Regions from separate parts of the Homo sapiens genome. Here region 2 is linked to region 1. Evidence: promoter capture Hi-C in 16 types of primary human blood cells and fetal thymus (Javierre and others, 2016). All regions are on one chromosome and are shown on one strand. The core of a region is centred on a gene start or on the middle of the fragment in contact, and the rest is flanking DNA. Distances in the headings are between cores, read along the strand shown. Region 1 holds the start of LIMD2 (LIM domain containing 2). Region 2 overlaps TANC2 (tetratricopeptide repeat, ankyrin repeat and coiled-coil containing 2).

The links. Contacts are between HindIII fragments. The CHiCAGO score rates a contact against its expected background, and 5 or more counts as called.
Region 2: a contact is called between a fragment that was not itself captured here and the fragment with the promoter of LIMD2 in region 1, in 7 of 17 cell types (megakaryocytes, fetal thymus, activated CD4 T cells and 4 more). The highest score is 5.7, in megakaryocytes.

Annotation. Positions count from the first base shown.
Region 1 is chr17:63,698,726-63,702,112 of GRCh38, reverse strand. LIMD2 (LIM domain containing 2) reads left to right here and starts at 1,988. Exons shown (of 5, transcript NM_030576.4): 1 at 1,988-2,081; 2 at 2,765-2,856; 3 at 3,044-3,085; 4 at 3,175-3,314. The coding sequence starts at 2,815. LOC729683 (a long non-coding RNA gene) reads right to left here and starts at 1,775. Exons shown (of 1, transcript NR_046273.1): 1 at 1-1,775. RefSeq lists silencers at 10-89, 1,280-2,239, 2,330-2,789, 2,880-3,109 and enhancers at 510-609, 405-989, 990-1,575. The HindIII fragment of the contact is 14,945 bases long and covers 627-3,387 here.
Region 2 is chr17:63,414,788-63,418,174 of GRCh38, reverse strand. It overlaps TANC2 (tetratricopeptide repeat, ankyrin repeat and coiled-coil containing 2), which reads right to left. Exons shown (of 28, transcript NM_001394998.1): 26 at 2,501-2,647. Among named protein-coding and RNA genes, the nearest start is that of CYB561, 30 kb to the left of the region's middle. The HindIII fragment of the contact is 3,917 bases long and covers 1-3,387 here.

The DNA.
Region 1 (3,387 bases), core at 739-3,238:
GAGTGAGTGTCGGGGGCGGCGGGGAGCATTTCCGGCCCTCCTCCCCCTGCTTTAAACCTCAAGTTCCCTTCGCCTCGCCCCGCCCTCCCCCCCCCACACACACACAAACACAGAGTCTGTCGCCCAGGCTGGCGTGCACTGGCTTCATGTTGACTCACTGTAGGCTCCACCTCCCGGGTTCAAGCGATTCTTCTGCCTCAGCCTCCCGAGTAGCTAGGATTACAGGCACACACCACCACGCCTGGATAATTTTTGTATTTTTAGTAGAGACGGGATTTCACCATGTTGGCCAGGCTGGTCTTGGACTTCTGACCTCGTGATCCACCTGTCTCTGCCTCCCAAAGTGCTGGGACTACAGGCGTGAGCCACCGCCGAGCCAAGTTCCCTTTTTTTGTTTGTTTTTGACGCTGGTCATCAGTTTCCTTTGCTTCTGGATGCCTTCTGCACCTTGCTGTTGGGGCATCCTCAATGCCCATCTGCAGCTCAGCCCACAGGCCCGTCCTGGGCAGGGTGCCGGGGCCTCACCATGCCCAATGGCAGCAAGCCCTGCTCCTAGTACCCCCGGGGCTTCCCGTTTCTTGCATCAAACAGCCCCTTTGGAGAATCTGATGACAGGTGTGGAAGCTTTCCCGAGAGGCAGCCACTTTAGAGGGTCTGACGCTCCCCACTAGAGAGTCGGCCCACAGTGCAGACAAAACGCAGATCTTCCTCTAGAGAGAACAGAAGGCTGGAGAGGAGACGCGGAGCCGGTCCGTGGAGTCCGCCAGCCTGGGAAACAGCTGGTCGCTGGGGAAGCTGCAGCCTCCCTGCTCCCCTGCCAGGCGTCGGGCGAGAGCTGTTCTGTTCCCTGACAAGCGCGTGGGCCGCCAGTGCTATTCCTGCCACAGTGTGGGAAGGCGCTGGGCTAAGGGCTGTGCTTCCCGGAGCTGCTTCTAGCCTGATTTCCGGCCAAGCCACGCAGTCCCTGGTGCCCGGGAAGGCGCCGGCCTCGCCGCCGCTCCAAAGCGAGTGGCCGTCTCTCGCCGGCTGTGCCTCCGGCCTGCTGTGCGGCTGCAGGGAGGGAGCAGCTCTGCGGCCCAAGCTCTGTCACCTCAGCTCTCTGGGCCGCGGCTCCCACGTGAGAAATGAGGTGCGCTTGTTGGAGAGGGGGCCCCCGTTGCTGCCCACAGAATTCCGCCCCAGAAACGCTTGAGTACGTGGAGCCTCGGGGGACGGGTGCTCCGGGAACCACGCATACCGGCCTCCCCAGCCCGTCGCAGGGTTGCAGAGGCGCCGAGGGCTGGGGGGGCTGCCGGGGCTGCCGGGCCCTCGTGCAGGCTCCTCCCCGCAGCCTCGCGGCCGGGCCTGGAGACCGCGTGCCCGGACGCCGCCGCCAGCCTCGTGGGCCGCAAAGGGGCGGGGGCGGCCCCTGGCGGCGGGAGGACTCGGCCGCCCGAGGGACCCCGGGCCAGGCTCCGGGGTCGCCCCGGCTGGGTCTCTGCGGCCCCACAGCTCTGGGCGGGGATGGGGGCGCCGGCGCCTACGCGCGAGGCCAACCGGGGGAAACCGAGGCAGTGAATGGCCCAGGCCCCGCCCGGTTATCCCGGAGCCAGGCCGGGAGCGCCCAGTGTCCCGCGACCGCAGCCGCCGCAGCCTGAACTCGTCCCCTCCCAGTAGGATGCGGAGCGCGGCCCTTCCATCCTGTCCCTGCCACCGTTGCTTCCCCACGCCGGGCCGCCGTCGGGATGGGCAGACGGCGCGGCCGGTACCCGAGGCCTGCGAGCGCGAGGCCCGCGGGGCGCTGCGGAGCCGGGAGCGCGGAGCCGGGGCGGGGGACAGACAAAGGCGGGGACGGCGGCGAGGGGAAGACAAAGCGCGGAGGGGGGTCGGCGGCGGCGCCGGGGCCCCGAAGGCGGCTCCGGGCGCGGCGGAGCCAATGGGCGGGCGCGGGGCGGGGGCCGGCGGGGGCGGTGCAGCGATAAGGCGGTGGCGGCGGCGGTGGCTCGGGGACCACTGGTAGCGGCAGCAGCTCGCGCCCGCGCCCTCCTCGTACCCGTGCGCCCCCGGAGACCGATCCCGCCCCGCGGCCCAGGCCGGGCCTGGTGAGAGCCGCGGGGGGAGGGGCCGCGTCCGGCTCCGGAACCGGGAGAGGCGCCGAGGGGTGTGGGGTGAGGGCCGCCCGTGGGGTCCCGGCGAGTCTGCGAGCCGCTCTCGCCCGGGGCGCACAGGCTCGAGTCCTCGTTTCAGGGCCGGCCCCCGGCTGGGCGGAGCCGAGACCCGCTGGCGGGGCTCGCGGCGTCGGGGTCTGGGGTCCGGTCCTCGCGGGGCCAGGTCGGGGGCCGAGGGGCGGGGCGGGCGGGGACCTCGGGCGCTGTCCAGGGGCTGCGCAGCCTAGGCCTGGACGCCCGGGCGCGGCGCAGGGCAGCGAGGGCCGGGGTCAGGTCGGGGCAGCGGCTTCTCATCGCGGCCCCGCCGGCCCCGACCTCCCCTCACCCCAAGCGGTCCCAGCCCGCGGGACGCACACGGCGGCTGCGCGGGAGCCCCCGGCCCCTCCGCTCCCGCTAACTTTGTTCTTCCGAGGGACGGTGCCACTCGGGACCCCGGCCCCTGGGGAGCAGGGGTGGGGGAGGTGGGTGAGGGGCGGAAGTGGCAAGACCAAGAGCAACAGGAAATGACTTAGGGAAAGTCCCAACCGCAATCCCCCCAGCCCCTGCCTGTCAACACCCCCCACCCTGCAGGCTGGGGCCGGGCTGGCGGGGCCCTCCCGACTGACTTCCCCTTGCAGAACCCAGCGGGTGCCGCTTCTCCACCCGAGGCTTCCACCTCCAACGAGCCATGTTCCAGGCTGCAGGAGCCGCCCAGGCCACCCCCTCTCATGTAAGTGCCCGGCTGGGTGGGAGGGCCCCCCGGACAGGAGCCTGGCCTGGGGTGAAGGGGAGAGGCATCAGAGTTTGCCGGCCCCCTTTGTGCCCTGCGGCGCGCCCCTGGGCCTTGGGCTGATGGCTGCAGCCCTGATCCAGGGCCTCCCGGAGCTGCCCCTGCCCTGACCGCCCCTCTCCCTCAGGACGCCAAAGGCGGCGGCAGCAGCACGGTGCAGCGCTCCAAGGTAGGGGCCTGGGGCCGGGTGTGCGGGAGGAGGGGTGTGAGGGAGCGGGATGAGCACTGGGGCAGCACCTGGCTGAGCTTCCCGCACAGTCCTTCAGCCTGCGGGCCCAGGTGAAGGAGACCTGCGCCGCCTGCCAGAAGACCGTGTACCCCATGGAGCGGCTGGTGGCCGACAAGCTCATTTTCCACAACTCTTGCTTCTGCTGCAAGCACTGTCACACCAAGCTCAGGTGCGCCCCTGCCCTGCCCGCCCCCGCCTCGCCTGCCAACCCAGCCCCGACCTGACCTGACCTGACGCCGTTG
Region 2 (3,387 bases), core at 516-3,015, 280 kb after region 1:
CATGGCTCAAGCCGCGTGGCCTGTGGACTGAAAGTTCCTTCTGCCTTTGTCCTGTGTAGCGCTGCGACTGCTCACTGGACTTTATCTGCCCAGAATATTAAAATAGTTTTAATTTTCCCTCTTTTTGCCTTTCTAATAAAGTTCTCAGCCCGGAAGCCAAACACCAACCCTTTCCAGTGAAGCTCCTGAAGTTATCCATGCATGTAGGAGGCAAACGCACACATGTCCACATTTCACGTGGACCCTGGTCTGAGCCCCACACCTTCCTGCTACATGCACTACACTGTGGCTTTCTAAGGGACAGGTGAGAAGGTGTCCTGTAAAGTCCGGGAGGATGACGTCTGTAAAGGAAACTGCACTGACTACAGAGACTAGAGGGAGAGGGGGTGTCAGACAGACCTGGGTTCAATTCTCTGACCAGCTTCATAACCCCCAAGTGTATAGTGTATTTTCTCATCCATACCTACCCCGGGGGTAGGATCAAGTGTGATACAGTATTTAAAAGCCCTGCACAGTTCCCGGCACATAGTAGGTGCTCATTAATTATCGTTTTCTTTCTATTTCACAGAGGCTTCTCTGATCTGTTCCTTTTTTTAACTGGTTCCTTACTTAGGAAACACTTAAAATTAAAAATAAAACAAAACAAGAGAAGACCCCAGCTGTGACTGAGGTCTGTGCTCTCCCTAGAGGAACACGCTCACAGGCATGTCATTCCTGAGAACCCCTGGAAACAGAGACTGGGGGGTGGGGTGGGGAACAACGCCGACTAGGCAGCCTATGGTTTTCAGTATTCCCTTAAATACTAAGCTAAAAGAGAAGGCTTTCCCCTTCTTTTAGTGTCAAAGCCACAGTATAGCATGGTAGCCTCTGGTTATGGTCATGAGTCCTAAGGCAGAAAACAAGGCCTTGGGCAGAACAAAGGCCCTGGGGCATAGGTAAAAAAATTTTTTAAAAGTTGATGGGAAATCCTCTACCTAAGAAGACAGACGTCTGGTGTTTGGCACAGTATTGGCCCAGGAGGTGATTAACAACCGCTTCTGAACAAATGTGGAGCTAGAAAGAATTTCAGCTTTTATGGGTCACCCTCTCCCTGCTCTGCTTCCAGCCTTACCCTTTTATTTGTTCTTTTGGGACCATCATTATTCCTAAAAATATGAGGGCATTTTTAAAAAGTCTATTATTTGGTAGGGAAAAGAGATCAGTGGGTTGGCAGCAACTTCTGAGCTTTGCCTCATCCTCATCGGCTGGTGCAGGGGAGGCCTTGGTGCTGTTCCTTTCATTTCACAGGAGACCCCAAGAGCATGAAAATCTGTCTCCCGAGACCGCCACCTTCTCCCTTCCCGGGGTTGGGGGGCCTCTTCCACATCCCCACTTCCCTCAGCACCCTGGAGCAACTCTGCCTCTGAGGGCCATGGCCGTGTTCTCTGAGACAGTCAGGTTTAACTCTGCCTCTGAAGGTCATGGCTGTGTTCTCTGAGATAGGTTTAACTCTGCCTCTGAAGGTCATGGCTGTGTTCTCTGAGACAGTCAGGTTTAACTCTGCCTCTGAAGGTCATGGCTATGTTCTCTGAGACAGTCAGGTTTAACTCAGGTTCCTTCCAGTGTCAGGGTTTAGGGTCTGGAATGGATGATCTAAAGGTTACACACACAAATCTTTCTGGAAGATCCCTGGCCATGAGGTTCAAATCTTGCTTCTGTCCAGCTGAGTTTTTAATTGATCAATACATCTGTTTGGCTTGGATTATTTTTATCTCCTGAGGAACTGTGAGACCTCAGGCAGGTAGATGTCAGAGACTCCTGACACAATCTTAGCTATTTCCAAAACCTGAGAGAGGGTTCTTGGCTTGGAGTGTCTTCACGTTAAAGGGCAGTGGCTGAGGGAGCAGTGTCTGGGGACATGTGAGATGGGTCTGCAAGGTAGGCAGGAAGGACCGTGGCTTACCAGGGAGACGATAAAGGTCCAGGGGGAGTTCTGAGATTCCCCCTAGGACAAGAAGGGACATAGCATGCTGGGATACAAAGATGAGGAAAGAGGCGAAAAGTTCGATAGCCTCAGAAATTAAACCTTCAAGACCATGGTCCAAGCCCTCTCCTTAGCCCTTCTTCAAATGATAAGGGAATATACCTGAGAGTAATGACTACAATTCACATCTAATTGCAACTGGAATTCTAGTGACCACTGCTCTCACATTTTCCCAAAGACCAGAACACTGACTTGGTGGTATGGGGGTGGGAAAGATGGTATTCTCATCACTTTCAGTTAAATTATGAACATTCAGAAAGCTGCAAAGTACTCGCAGCATTAATTTCTGTACAGTTTGAGATACAGATTGTACTTAGACTTGATTTCTTTCAAATTGCAAATGTCAGTGCTCTGTGAAGGACAACCAAGTTCCAAATGGGGCAGAGGAGGATTTCAGGGGCCTGGTAAAAGCTAGTGAGTGACACAGGCTATCAGCTACCAGGATTGCAGAAAGGAGTTGGGGTGACAGGGACTTACGTTCATTTTCCTGCGACACCGAGAGAGGTTGAGGAGGAGAGACACCTTTAGTTCCCGGAAAGTTTTCAAGTCCTCACCAAACCCTTCTCTAGGGAACTTCTTCAGGGCGTACTGGTAGCGCTGGGCAGCTTCCTTTACTTTACCTTTCTAATGGGAGCACAAGATGGCGAAACACACAGTTGGTCTGCTGAACAGCTGAGGAAGTGTGGTCCCCACTCCCTTCTTCTTCTCAGCAGCTGTTACTAAGGGCTAACCCTCCCAAACGCCAGCCTAGAGAGGAGTTCTGGCCCTGATGGTGAGGGCAGAAGGGTCTAGTCTTTTCTATAGGAAACTCACCTGGCAGGAAAGGCAAGGTTGAGGGGATACCCAAGATACAAGCCAGGGAGGCAAAGCCTTGGCAAATGGAAGGCCCTGGACCCTGACTTCCCAACTGGATTCCAAAGAGGCTGACCATGCTCATTTCAAAGTTCCTTTGCTCTCTATAACACATATGACTTCCTAACCCCAAGCACTCCAAAGTTATTACTTCCTCCTTAATTTCTGGCTTGTCTGGAGAACTGTTTTTTTGGTCTGACGCTCCACCTGGCCAGCCCTCTAGAAGTCACTCTCTTCCTCATGAAGGATGTGGGAGCTAAAGCAGTCTAGCAGTTGCTTCCCTAATCTCATGGCATAAAATAATACCAATCAGTGTTCCCCATTTTTGGAAAGGCATGGAGTAGGGTGGCAGTAGAAAAGTGAAGTTTAGAGTTTGTGATTCCATCTGATGTTGCAGGAGGGATTATCCAAGAGGAAGTAAATCTATGACCAATTTAGAGATCTGGCCACAGCGACCTTGAACTTTTCTTCCACTTTGTATCTGAAAATCTATAAGCTGAGACCAGAAAGAT